Regions from separate parts of the Homo sapiens genome. Here region 2 is linked to region 1. The links are contacts of gene promoters, found by promoter capture Hi-C in human tissues and cell types (Jung and others, 2019). All regions are on one chromosome and are shown on one strand. The core of a region is centred on a gene start or on the middle of the fragment in contact, and the rest is flanking DNA. Distances in the headings are between cores, read along the strand shown. Region 1 holds the start of ABCC2 (ATP binding cassette subfamily C member 2). Region 2 overlaps ERLIN1 (ER lipid raft associated 1).

Region 1 (6,655 bases), core at 2,249-4,748:
TTCTTTATTTCTATTACAGTGTTTTTGATCTCTAGTATTTATTTCTTTTTAGTTCTTTCTTAGAATTTAAACTCTCTGCTTACATCGACCCATTTGTTCTTGTATGCTGTCTACTTTATCCATTAGAGCCCTTGGCATTGTGATCATAGTTGTTTTAAATTTCTGGTCTGATAATTCCAACATCCCAGTCATATCTGAGTTTGGTTCTGAGGCTTGCTCTCTGTCTCTTTAAAGCCTTTTTTTTTTCTTTTTTTTTTTTTGCCTTTTAGTATGCCTGGCAATGTTTTCTTCATAGCTGGACAGGATATACGGAGTAAAAGGAAGTGCTGTAACTAGACCTTTAGTAGTGTGGTATACAGTGGGGGAGGGGGAGAGGAAGAGTTCTATAGTTCTGTGAAGAGGTCTCAGTCTTTTAGTAAACCTGTGTCTCTAGACTGAATTTCACAAGTGCTTCTCAGTTCCTATCTGCCCCGATCCCTGTTAGGTGGGACGTGATGGCTAGAGTGGGCTGCAGCTGGGTATTTTCAGTTTTCATGTGGAAGGCTAGAAGAGACTGGAGTTCTTATTTCCCTTCTCCGGCATCATTTAGGCTCCTATAAATCAAGAGCATTAGGCTCTATTTAAACAGTTTTTCCCAAGGGCAGACTTTGTTTAGAAGAGAAGAATAGAGTGTCCAGGTATATTTCAAATGGTTACTTTTCCTATCCCCTCTGCCAGGGACATGGAAGCAGGAGGAGATTTTTCTCTAATAAAAAGAGAACAATATTTGAGAACCTCTTTGAATTCCTATGGGTAAACTCATGAAAGTGTGGAGATCATCCCCTCCTTATGGCTGAGTCACTCTGGAATTTTTCTCTCTCAAACTTATCTACACTGGGCCTCCGGCAATTCAATTACAGTTCAGGTTTTCCTGCCCTAGCCCTGGTTCCTGCTGAGATTTCTTTTCTTTTTTCTTTTTTTTTTTTTTTTTTTTTTTGAGACAGTGTCTCTGTTGCCCAGGCTGGAGTGCAGTGGCGTGATCTCAAGTCACTGCAAGCTCCGCTTCCCGGGTTCACGCCATTCTCCTGCCTCAGCATCTCCGAGTAGCTGGGACTACAGGCGCCCGGCACCACGCCCGGCCAATTTTTTGTATTTTTAGTAGAGACAGGGTTTCACTGTGGTCTCGATCTCCTGACCTCGTGATCCGCCCGCCTCGGCCTCCCAAAGTGCTGGGATTACAAGCGTGAGCCACCGCGCCCGGCCCCTGCTGAGATTTCTGCGCCAGTAAATTGTGATTTTTGATATTCTCTTGTTTATCTCTTCAGTTTGCCCTGTAACCTTATCTCTCTACAGATCTAAGAAGAGTTATTGATTTTTCTATTTGTTCAGATTTTTAGTTATTGTTAGGAAAGATTCATGACTTCCTGGCTCCTTACTTGCTTTTCTCATTCAATATTCCCTATGAGTACATATTTTATACTTTAAGCAACTTGTTTTGATGAACATTTAGATTCTCCACCCTCTCTTTTTTTGATTACTTAGAACGTTTAGGCCAGACACGATGGCTCATGCCTGTAATCCCAGCAGTTTGGGAGGCCGAGGCGAATGGATCGCTTGAGCCCAGGAGTTTGAGGCTCTACAAAAAAATTAAAAAAAGAAAATTAGGTGTTAATCCTTGACCTTATATTTCTCAAAGTTTTACCAAGAGTTCCCCCGGACTCCGAGTCCTACCACCAGTGCCAAGAGAAGTATGCAGCCTAAAGGTGCACCCTGCCCCAAGTGAGATCTCTTAGTTCCACAGCTGACCTTTCCTGGCTCTTCTGGTGAGTGGTATGGAAAATGATGGAGAAACTGCCATATGTTTTCATAATGGTCAGACCAATTTACATTTCCATCAACAGTATACTAGGGTTCCCTTTTCTCCACACCCTTGCCAGCACTTATCTTGTTGTTTTTTTTTTTTTTTTGTAATAGCCATCCTAATAGGTATGAGGTGGTATCTAACTGTGGTTTTGATTTGTGTTTTCCAGATGACTTGTGAAGTTGATTCAGTTGTCATATACCTGTTGGCCATTTATATGTCTTCTTTGGAAAAGTGTCTGTTCAAGTCCTTTGCCCACTTTTTAATTTGTTAGTGTATGTTTGCTATTGAGTTGTATGAGTTCCTTATAGTATATTGTGGATATTAACTCTTCATCAGTTATATGGTCTGCAAATATTTTCTCCCACACTGAATGCTGCCTTTTCATTTTTTTTATGTGTATACTTGACTTTTAAAATCAGTAACAAGGTCCATACAATTCACATTTGGCTGATATGCCTCTTGATTCTCTTGTAATTTGTAAGTTCCTTTGACTCCTTTCCTTCTTTTAATTTATTTATTAAAAAATGGAATCATTTGCACTATAGAATCTCCCACATTCTGGATTTTGACAATTGCATTCCAATGGAGTCCTTTAGCATGTTCCTGTGTTTCTTATAATCCGGTAGTTAGATCTAGAATTTGACCAGATTTAAGGCCAATTTTTTTTAGCTAGGATACTGCATGGGTGGTTATGTTTTAGCTAGGATACCGCATGGGTGGTTCATGATATCATGAAAAAAGCATGTTCTTAAAGCAATTTAAGTGACAGTACAAAAGGTTGGGTCAGGTGGGGCACGGTAGCTCATGCCTGCAATCCCAGCCCTTTGGGAGGCCAAGGCAGAAGGATTGTTGAAGCCTGGAGTTTGAGACCAGCCTGGGCAACATAGTGAGACCCCGTCCCTACAGAAAACATTTTTTTAATTAGCTGGGCTTGTTGGCATGTGCCTGTAGTCCCAGCTACTCAGGAAGCTGAGGCAGGAAGATCGCTTGAACCCATGAGGTCAAGGCTGCAATGAATCATGATGGCAACACTGCACTCTAGCTCAGGCAACAGACCAAGACCCTGTCTCAAAAAACAAAAAACAATAACAAAAAAAGAAAAGGTTGGGTCGATGACAGTTTCTAGCGACTGATGCCACCACTCTGTTTACAGAATCACCCCTCTCCTCTGGCCCTGATGTTTTATCATGATATCATATTTACAATGCCTGGCAAAGGCTTCATTCCCATTTGGCATACTACCTCTCAGGCAAATAGAACTTTTGAAAGCCTGTATTATGTATATAACATATAGGCTCACACTGGATAAGCTATTTTATAACCTGACTTCTTCAAAGAAAGTTTACATCATGTTTAAACCATGTTTTAGATTCTATATTTTTAATTAAAAATCTAAGGAAGAAGGATATTTCACATTTCTATAAACTCTAAGATCTTGCAGCAGAAGCGAAACTGCACATTTAGGGGTGCCTGCCCCTCTACTGATGCTGCCCTTTGTGGGTCATATGTCCTTAGGAAAATGAAAGACTGTGCACTCTTGATTTGTTGGCCAGCTCTGTTGACATCTTTCAGTGGTTCCTTTTATGTATGGCCACTCCTACAGAGGCCTCTTGTACTTTGGGAACTGGTGAGTCTCCCTGTCCCTAGGGCTTTTTAGTCACATGTCCATCCACTGTTTCAATGTAACATGCATCTAGGCAAGGTTAACGATTAAATGGTTGGGATGAAAGGTCATCCTTTACGGAGAACATCAGAATGGTAGATAATTCCTGTTCCACTTTCTTTGATGAAACAAGTAAAGAAGAAACAACACAATCATATTAATAGAAGAGTCTTCGTTCCAGACGCAGTCCAGGAATCATGCTGGAGAAGTTCTGCAACTCTACTTTTTGGGTGAGAAATTACATTTATCTTCATATTGACTCTTCTCAGACTCAGAACAAGTGGTAGTTAGTTAACTTAGGGTGGTCACCAACAAGAACCAGAAATGTTAGATGTGCAATTGGTCTAAAGCTCAGGCTTTTTAGAAAGCATAATTCATAATATCTCCAGAGGATATAAGATCTGGGAAATGTAATGCAAATTATTCTCTGTCATATGTTTTTTTATATCAGACTCTTGTACTAGCTAGTCGCAAAATTGCCTTCTCTAAAGAGAAACAGGTAAAAACCTTCCAATTTAATCCGTGTGAGGAAGGAGAATTGTTGTTGCATACTTTGCTAGTAGAAGGAAGAGAAGATCCGTGACTGAGTCTTGCTGAGACATGTTGATGTTGAAATGATAATGATAAGTTCTAGAACTGGCAACTAATGATATGGACTAGAAGTTGAGTCTAGGGATGCAACTTTGGGCATCATGAGCATTGAAATAATTTTTGAACAACTAGAGTTGGGTAATATTGTTTTTAAGGAAAAGAAGAGACACCACTTAGAGGGTGAACAAGAACAGTGTAACATTACGGAGTCATAGATAGCAAAAAATTTCAAGATAGGGGCCAATCAACAGTATCAAAGGTCTAGTGGAATAGAAAACAAAAAAGGACCTTAGATTTAGTGATTTTAGTAAGGGTTTGGTGAGAAAGTATCATCTGCAAACTCCTAGCCTCAGCATCAGAATCACCTGGGGCAATAAATGTAGTTTAAGTATCTTAAGTGATTCTTCTGAATTCTAACATTTGATAACCTTATATAGAGGTGAGAGGGGCAGGGATGAGATAGCAGAGCACCTGGGCAGCACCTCGTGTCTTAGAAAGGACCTGGGTCCCAAGACCCTCGAGGCCAGGAGTGTATACCACGGCAAGGTGGATCTTCATGGGCTATAGTATCTAGACAGGCCATCTCTTGAGAATTCTTTCTGAGAACTACCTGACAAACTTTCTTGGTCAGGGCATCGCAAGCAATTCTTTAAAGAGTCTGTATAAATAATCATATAAAACAATTTTTAACTATTTATAGGAAAAGAAAAATCCACACTCATGTGACTCAGATACAAGAATTGGTGCCCACCCCCCACCCCCCAACTTCCACTTCACAAGACACTTCCATTTATCGCAGAATGCAAAGACTGCACAAAACTTGCTGGTTGGAAGCCTTCTGTCCAACAATGCTGTTGTCACTGCTGTGCTGAAACTGGCCAGGTTTTTAATGTAAGCGCTTTGGGCCATCAGAGAGCAAATGTTACAGTATGACTAAGCATTCTCCCTGCATGGCGCCTGCATGTTTGAATATCTGCCAGTGAGTTCAGTTAGTGCTAGAAACTTGAATAATTTTTTATATCCCAGGGAACTATTCTGTCCTTTAAACTGGGGAACAGTCCTTCTTCATCCTATAATTTGGCAAATGCAGTGGTGAGGTTTACTCAGAATAGCTGGTACAAAATTCACTTAGAATCACAAGAAGACACGTTTTTGGAGGGTGGGTTGGCCAGAAAGTGACTACATTTGTCATTAAATGGTGAATTTGTATCCATGTGCACAAATAGGAAAATACGGATAGTTAAAGGGTAAGGCTGGATATGGATATGGAGTTGAATTTAAATTGTGTGAAAGCAGTGGGATGTGCTGCAGGGTGGTTTTCTGTCTTCACAATGCATGTATGCAACAATCCTTCCCCTTTGGTCTCCAGAATTCCTCATTCCTGGACAGTCCGGAGGCAGACCTGCCACTTTGTTTTGAGCAAACTGTTCTGGTGTGGATTCCCTTGGGCTACCTATGGCTCCTGGCCCCCTGGCAGCTTCTCCACGTGTATAAATCCAGGACCAAGAGATCCTCTACCACCAAACTCTATCTTGCTAAGCAGGTAAAGTTAACACCACTGTTTCTGAACTCTAATTCCTTGGTGCACAGTAGAGACATTTTCTTGGTGGTTAGTGTTCTCTTCCTTGTCTTTAAGCAGCTGTCCCAGGTGCCATTGTCTCAGGTAGAGCCAGGCTCAAGGTTTCCCTCACGGGTCCCTTGCTGCATTTCTTAAATCAAAGTGGCTTTGATTTTTGCATAAGAATGGTGACTCTTAATTCTTGTGGATATTGGGTTCCCTAAACACAAAGGGCATATAATCAATCAAATTATCTTTATAGCATTTGAGAAATGAACACTGGATCACCTGTCTTTAAACAGCTCTAATAAATCAGTGGACTGTAATTCAGTTGGCATCTACCTCGTGAAAATGAGCTAGATAATGGATCTCCTGCCCCACTGAGGCAATCCAACTATCACTCATCTTCAAAAACTTGGGTCCGAAATAAGGTTTCCATTTTCCCCGCATATTTGATGAGTCAGGATGATCACTCACAGTAGAAGGAGGAGGGGTAAGTGTGCACAGTGACAAGCACGAGTAGGGAAATAATGGAAAGGACAGGTCTGCGGGAGAGGCCCAGGAGGGGCCAGGAGGGGAGGAGCCCTCAGCCAGCTGCACCAACTCACTCAGGGAAGGGTCTTGTGGGAACCCAAGACCCTCATTCGAGGTTGTAAAATTATCTCATAAAATCTTCCATCTGCTTCTTTTCACTATTTTTTTTTCTATCTCTCCTTATTATCATTATTACTACCATTTTAAATGGAGTCTCACTCTGTTGCCCAGGCTGGAGTGCAGTGGCACTATCTCGGCTCACTGCAACCTCCACCTCCTGGGTTCAAGCAATTCTTATGCCTCAACCCCTCCCGAGTAGCTGGGATTACAGGAGCACGCCACCATGTCCAGCTAATTTTTGTATTTTTAGTAGGGCGGGATTTCGCCATGTTGGCCAGACTGGTCTCGAACTCCTGACCTCAAGTGATCCCTCCTGCCTTGGCCTCCCAAAGTGCTGCGATTACAA
Region 2 (6,655 bases), core at 289-2,788, 380 kb after region 1:
CAATTAGAAAACGGCACCAGCCGTTTCTACAGTCCTGCAGGTGCATGGTTTGACATGCAGAATGAAGCTGGGTTTCAGCCCCTGCCCTCCTCAGGTGGGCACCCATGTGCAGTGACCATATTTGTTGCACAGAAGATATAACTAGGTGGTAGTTATTAGGTAGTAAACTGGGGCTTACAGTAAGGAGAATTTTCTAAGGCTTCCAGTGTCTAATACAGGTTGAGCATTTCTGATCTGAAAATTTGAAATCCAAAATGCTCCAAAATCTGAAACTTTTTGAGAGCCCACATTATGACACAAGTGGAAAATTCCACACATAAGCACTTAAGGTAAACTTTGTTTCATGCACAAAATTATTTAAAATATTTTATAAAGTTACCTTCAGGCTATAGGTGTATATGGGACATAAATAAAATACCTTAAAAAAAAAAAACTAACCACTATACCAACAAGGAAGAACATAAATAAATTTTATATTTAGACCTGGGTCCCATCCCTGAGATATCTCATTATGTCTATGCAAATATTCCAGAATCTTTACAAATCCAAAATTTAAAATACTTCTGGTCCCAAGCATTTCGGATAAGGGGTACTAAACCTGTAATGGAAATGGCTGGCATATTACTAAGCATGTACAAGTAGCTACTGGGTAACCACGTGGCAGAAATGGTATAAGAAAACACTACTATCAGGTGCAAGGTTATACTGGATCATCCCAAGGTAGCTTTTAATTCTGGAATTCCAATAGTCCATAAAATTAAGAAAGATCCAGAATCATCTGAAAAGTAACTCCAATAGTTTCCCCAAAACACTTCCCCTCAAAGTTTCCCCTTTCCTCTGATAACATTGATAAAGACATCAAATGACAGTCTGAATACTATGATTTATTTGAGAGCAGAAAACACACAATATTCATTTTTCCGTCACCAGAAGCAATCTTTTTTTTTTTTTTTTTTTGAGATGGAGTCTCACTCTGTCACCCAGGCTGGAGTGCAGTGGCACTATCTCGACTCACTGCAAGCTTCGCCTCCTGAGTTCACGCCATTCTCCTGCCTCAGCCTCCCGAGTAGCTGGGACTACAGGCGCCCACCACCATGCCTGGCTAATTTTTTGTATTTTTAGTAGAGACGGGGTTTCATTGTGTTAGCTAGGATGGTCTCGATCTCCTGACCTCGTGATCCGCCCACCTTGGCCTCCCAAAAGTGCTGGGATTACAGGCATGAGCCACCGCACCCAGCCTAAGCAATCATATTTAAAGCCTAAGACATGCTGACAGTTTAATAAAATTTTCTTTTTGAGACAGAGTTTCGTTCTTTTGCCCAGGTTGGAGTGCAATGGCGTGGTCTCGGCTCACTGCAACCTCTACCTCCCCGGTTGAAGCGACTCTCCTACCTCAGCCTCCCCAGTAGCTGGGATTATAGGTGCCTGCCACCATGTCCAGCTAATTTTTCTATTTTTACTGGAGACAGGGTTTCACCATGTTGGCCAGGCTGGTCTCAAACTCTTGAACTCAGGTGATCCGCCGGCCTCAGCCTCCTGAAGTGCTATGATTATAGGCATAAGCCACCACAGCCCGCCTATAAATATTTTTTCAATAAGTGGATCACATCCATAATCTACCCAGCCTGGCAGTCTACATTTTATACTTTTAAAAGAAGAGTTCTTTGTCTACAATGAAAAAGAGAAAACAGGCTGGGTGTGGTGACTCAAGCCTGTAATCCCAGTACTTTGGGAGGCCAAGGCAGGAGGACTGCTTGAGCCCAGGAGTTTGAGACCAGGCTGGGCAACAGGGCAAAACTCCGTCTCTATGAAAAATACAAAATTTAGCTAGGTGTGGTGGCATGCACTGGTAGTCCCAACTACTCAGGAGGCTGAGGTGGGAGGATCGCTTAATCACTTGAGCCTGGGAGGTTGAGACTGCAGTGAGCCGTGATTGTGCCACTGCACTGCAGTCTGGGCAACAGAGCAAGACCTTGTCTCAAAAAAAAAAAAATTAAGAAAAAGAGAAATAAAACTCTGTATGAGCTCAGAGAAGGTATGAGGGAAAAGGAAAATATAAAAGAAGAAAAAAACAATAAAAATCTGCATGGTAACAAAAAGGACTCAGAAGTAAACAACCTCATAAAGTAGTATTACTGCTCCTTGGACTTCCAGTATTTATACATCTGTGGTATCCTTGACTTGTGCAAATTTATTTTTCCAGCGTCTTATACTTTCCCTTTTAACACATCAGCCAAATTTCCTAAAGACTTTTATTTCTTCTTTTCAGTACCAGTCATACGAAAACAATATTGCCATTTCAAACACAGTAAGTATTCCCCTAAAAGGGATCCTGTCAGAAACTAATTTCATGTCTTCTCATTCCCAGTCAGCCCTGGATACATAAAAGAGAAGACTACCAGGAGTCAACAGAAGCAAGGCTTCCCTAGAGGCACATTATAAAGAACCAGGTCTAATTTTAGATATACAATCACATACAATGGAAAACCAAACTTTATACCAACAAGGTATCTATTCCTACCATTACAACACAGAAACAAAATATGAGCACTCTCTTCAACCCTAACGGCTTCAGGACTCTTTCCTCTATTAAATATTTAATTCAAGGTACTATTCATATAAAATTATAGCTCCTTAAGCTTCCAGCAATAGTTTTACAGCAAACTGCATCTTTAGCCACTGAAACTGCTCCTGAAATGTCCATACATAAAGAGAACACTAGTAAGAGTCTAGTGGGAATTAAGACACAAGAATAGGCAATATTACTAGAGTAAGAGTAAAGAAGATAAGACACATACTCCACCCCAGAGTGTATTGTCTCACATGTTTCCTCTAGACTGGAATATTAATATGCAGACAGCCCTAAACAGAAATATTGGGATCCCATGCATATTACTCACATTAACTCAAAATTTCTTCTTATGGCTTCTGGGATTTTGGGTTTTGTAACACGCACAGCCTAAAAAATAAAAGTGAAAAAGCCAAAGTATATTTGAAAGATAAATCTTCAAATTAAATCTTCTACAGAAAAGCCCCTCAAATGATACTAATCTAATAAACAACAGCTATAATATAGCGGCCTACTAACACGTTTGGGGATCCCACCAGAACATTTACTTTTCATGCCATCACACCAAGAATCAAAGACAAGCTGCTTCTTATTTCCTTACACAATGCCAGATTACAGGAAAAACCATCTACCCACTGAGGAAACAACTGCCTTATGAAAAAGGTTCTCACTTAAAAGATGTTTTACAAAGGTCGTTAGATACTTTTGCTTTCTTTTTCAACCCTGTAAACCAAAGAAGCCGGGAAGGCAAAGTTCCAAGACTGAAATTGTAAAGTCAGAAACAATTAGTCAAATACAAAAACAAACAAAAAAACCCAGGTTGGTGTATACAATTTAATACAGTGAGTAGTGAGTAAATTAATCTATCACTTCCAACCCCTGCAATCACTTGGTATTTGCTGTAAGTAAACAGCCCACTGGCTGAAGGAAAACAAATATCAATTAAAAGCTTATATTCTTTCTTCCTTAACTCTCACTTAGAACAAAGTCTGTCTTTGTAGAGGCTGTTTACCAGACACTTTGTTTCCCTAATCATAGTGTTCTTTGACACAATTAAGATTATCTACCTGGACAGTACTGTTTTTTGAAGGCTGACTTTTCTACATCAAGGACTTGATCTCTCAAAAGCTTTTGATTTTACTAAACATACGATACCCCGCCGCCCCACCTATACTGCAAACACACACAAAAAACACTTTGCTGGTCTGAAGAAGTTTTCCTTCTGAAAACTGGCTAACCTTTTAAGAATAACAAAGCCTTTAAGCACTTAGTCTTCTTTAAAGGCTTTTAAAACTTTTAAGCGATATAGCATTTCCTATATGAAATAGATGAGTCAAATTTGTAGGTAATTTTGAGGACAATCATAACTAAATATAAGGATTACAGTGGAATGGAATAAGCAGCTGAAGGCTGTGTGGAAAAAACTCACAACACACTGGCAGTGACACATGTGAGGCCTCACAACTCAGTGGAGACATGCAGAAGACAAATAAAAATTCAGGACCAGATTTTGTGAGATGTCAGATTTCACCATGTGACTAGCAGACATAAGATTACTTCCAATATGGATTAATATGATTCAAGGAAGCACTGTCATACTGCATTTAATTAAGAGACTGGCCACATATCTTTTTAGCCTTATTAAAAGAAGCGTAAAGTAGGACTTTTTTTTTTTTTTTTGAGATGGAGTTTTGCTCTTGTTACCCAGGCTGGAGTGCGGTGGTGCAATCTCAGTTCACTGCAACCTCCGCCTCCCAGGTTCAAGCGATTCTTCTGCCTCAGCCTCCTTAGTTGCTGGGATTACAGGCATGCGCCACCAAGCCCGACTAATTTTTGTATTGTTTTTTAGTAGAGACAGGGTTTCACTGTGTTGGTCAAGCTGGTCTCGAACTCCTGAACTCAGGTGATCCAACCACCTCGGCCTCCCAAAGTGCTGGGATTACAGGCGTGAGCCACCACACTCGGCCAGGACTGTCTTTTGAAGACTCCTATTTTGCTGAATGAGGCTGAAGAACATACTACATTGTGCTTGCCAATCTTGGGAAATCTCACAGATTTTCAAATATGTGAAAACATAAACACTTACTGTACAGATACCATGAGTAAGTTGCATCAAAAGAGATTTTAAAAGTAAAAGTGGGAAGTCCCACTCAGGCACCCCTCTCCCTCACAGGAGAGAGAGCTATTCTCCTTTCTGTTTCTTTTGCCTATTAAACCTCTGCTCTTAACCTCAAATAATAAAATAATGCCCCCATCCCACTCACATACATAGAGTGAATGGAGGAAAAAAATGGCTAATGAAAGGAATATATGTATTGAAACTGACCCCTGGGTTTTAAGCATATATTATATATCAAAAGCCAGTCTATAATATAGTCACTCCCTTAAATAACATAGGAAAAAAAAAATCAAAGATGACCATTTTCATCATTCTAATTTGCCAGAGTAGTTTTTCAAGAAGAAAAATGGTATATAAATATATGGAAAGGAAAAAAATATAATAGTGACTGTAAAAATAGTAACCCAAAAATTACTAGAAGGCAGTGAATTCAAGTTGTAGATATAAGATAAATCTACCAAGAATCAATCACATTCCTCAATGATTAAAAAAAAAAAAGACTACATATTGAACAGCATTAAAATTCATTAAATCCATTGGTATTAATTTAACTTAGGATATGAGTTTCTCCCCTAAATCAGAAATTCTAAAAACCAAAAAGGCTGATATGATAAAGTAAAGCCATAAACTATGTTTCTATTTTTAACTTATATTGGAGGATTGCATGAGGCCAGGAGTTTGAGACCAGCCTGGGCAACACGGCAAAGGCCCATCTCTACAAAAAATAAAAAAATTAGCCAGATGTGGGGGTGTGTACCTGTACTCCTAGCTACTTGGGAGGCTAAGGCAGGAGAATCACTTGAGCCCAGGAGTTCAAGGCTGCAGTGACCTATGATCATGCCACTGCACTCCAGCCTGGGCAACAGAGGGAGACCCTGTCTCAAAACAAAACAAAACAAAACAACATGTATATGACCACTTAGGTGCCTGATATAGCTTGAAAATATCGATAATGAAAACTCATCTGGAAGATTAAGCTGGCAGAAACAGCAAAGGCCATTATTTTTTAAAAGATGATGTCTCTTGCCAGATTTTAAAATAAAAAGTTGAATTATCACAACCATATGGTAATGTGTTAAAAATAACAAAGCTCAAAAACAGCCTTGAAATTCTTAAAATGCATTCCAACTATTGTAAAAAAAATTTTATAACAAGACAAAAGCAACCAAAGCAAAGGAGCTCTTCTCTTCTCAGGGTATGCTTAAGTTATTGCAAAATATAAAAATTATTTTAAAATTTTTTTAAACCCTAAAACAATGGAGATCTCTACCACTTTAAGAACGTATAACAAAACTACATTTTTTCAATCAATAACTTTTTATAAAAACAGCAAATAAATATAAGTAAATTCAAAAGATCCTTCTGGCTGTTGTGCAGAAAATGAAGTAGACAAAGGTAAAAGTGAAAGTGGGGAAAGAAGACAGGCGGCTACTGCTACTGCACATGTCAAGGTTAGAGTTGGTAGCTTGGCTTGAGATGACAGTGAAGATGGAGGTGTGGTCAGTTTTATTAATACATGGATTTTGGTGGTGGAATCTGCAGGACATAGGGACTGATTAGATGCTGAGGGTGAGGCGATTGTCAAAGATGCCTCCTACACTTCTAGATTGGCTTGAGGGGAAAGAGTTACCATTAACTGACAAGATGAAAAACACAGGAGAAAATTCGATTTGATGAGAAAAGACCAAGGACTCAATAACTAATGAAAGAGTAGGAATGGGAAGATCAATGGAACAGAACTAAGTTCAGAAAAAGACTCTAGTATATAATGGAATGCAGTATGTAACATAAAAACTATTTCAAAGAAGGGGGAAGATGGAAAAATAAACTATTCAGTAATTACCGCTGTTACCCAATTTGGGGTTGAGGGGATGGAGCTGAAGGCCTACCTTGCAACTGAGATCAAAATGGGTTGCAGATGAATTAAAAGATTTAAATCTAAGAATACAACTGTAAAAGCAGATACA

The links. Contacts are between HindIII fragments. The study calls those that stand out against the background at their distance.
Region 2: a contact is called between a fragment that was not itself captured here and the fragment with the promoter of ABCC2 in region 1, in 1 of the 25 tissues and cell types used here (mesendoderm cells).

What each region holds. Positions count from the first base shown.
Region 1 is chr10:99,779,142-99,785,796 of GRCh38, forward strand. ABCC2 (ATP binding cassette subfamily C member 2) reads left to right here and starts at 3,499. Exons shown (of 32, transcript NM_000392.5): 1 at 3,499-3,736; 2 at 5,467-5,640. The coding sequence starts at 3,704. RefSeq lists enhancers at 4,697-5,358, 5,227-6,426, 6,443-6,655, a cis regulatory region at 5,675-5,938 and a silencer at 5,712-5,875. The HindIII fragment of the contact is 27,927 bases long and covers 1-6,655 here.
Region 2 is chr10:100,164,448-100,171,102 of GRCh38, forward strand. It overlaps ERLIN1 (ER lipid raft associated 1), which reads right to left. Exons shown (of 11, transcript NM_006459.4): 7 at 2,901-2,959. Among named protein-coding and RNA genes, the nearest start is that of ERLIN1, 18 kb to the right of the region's middle. The HindIII fragment of the contact is 3,080 bases long and covers 1-3,078 here.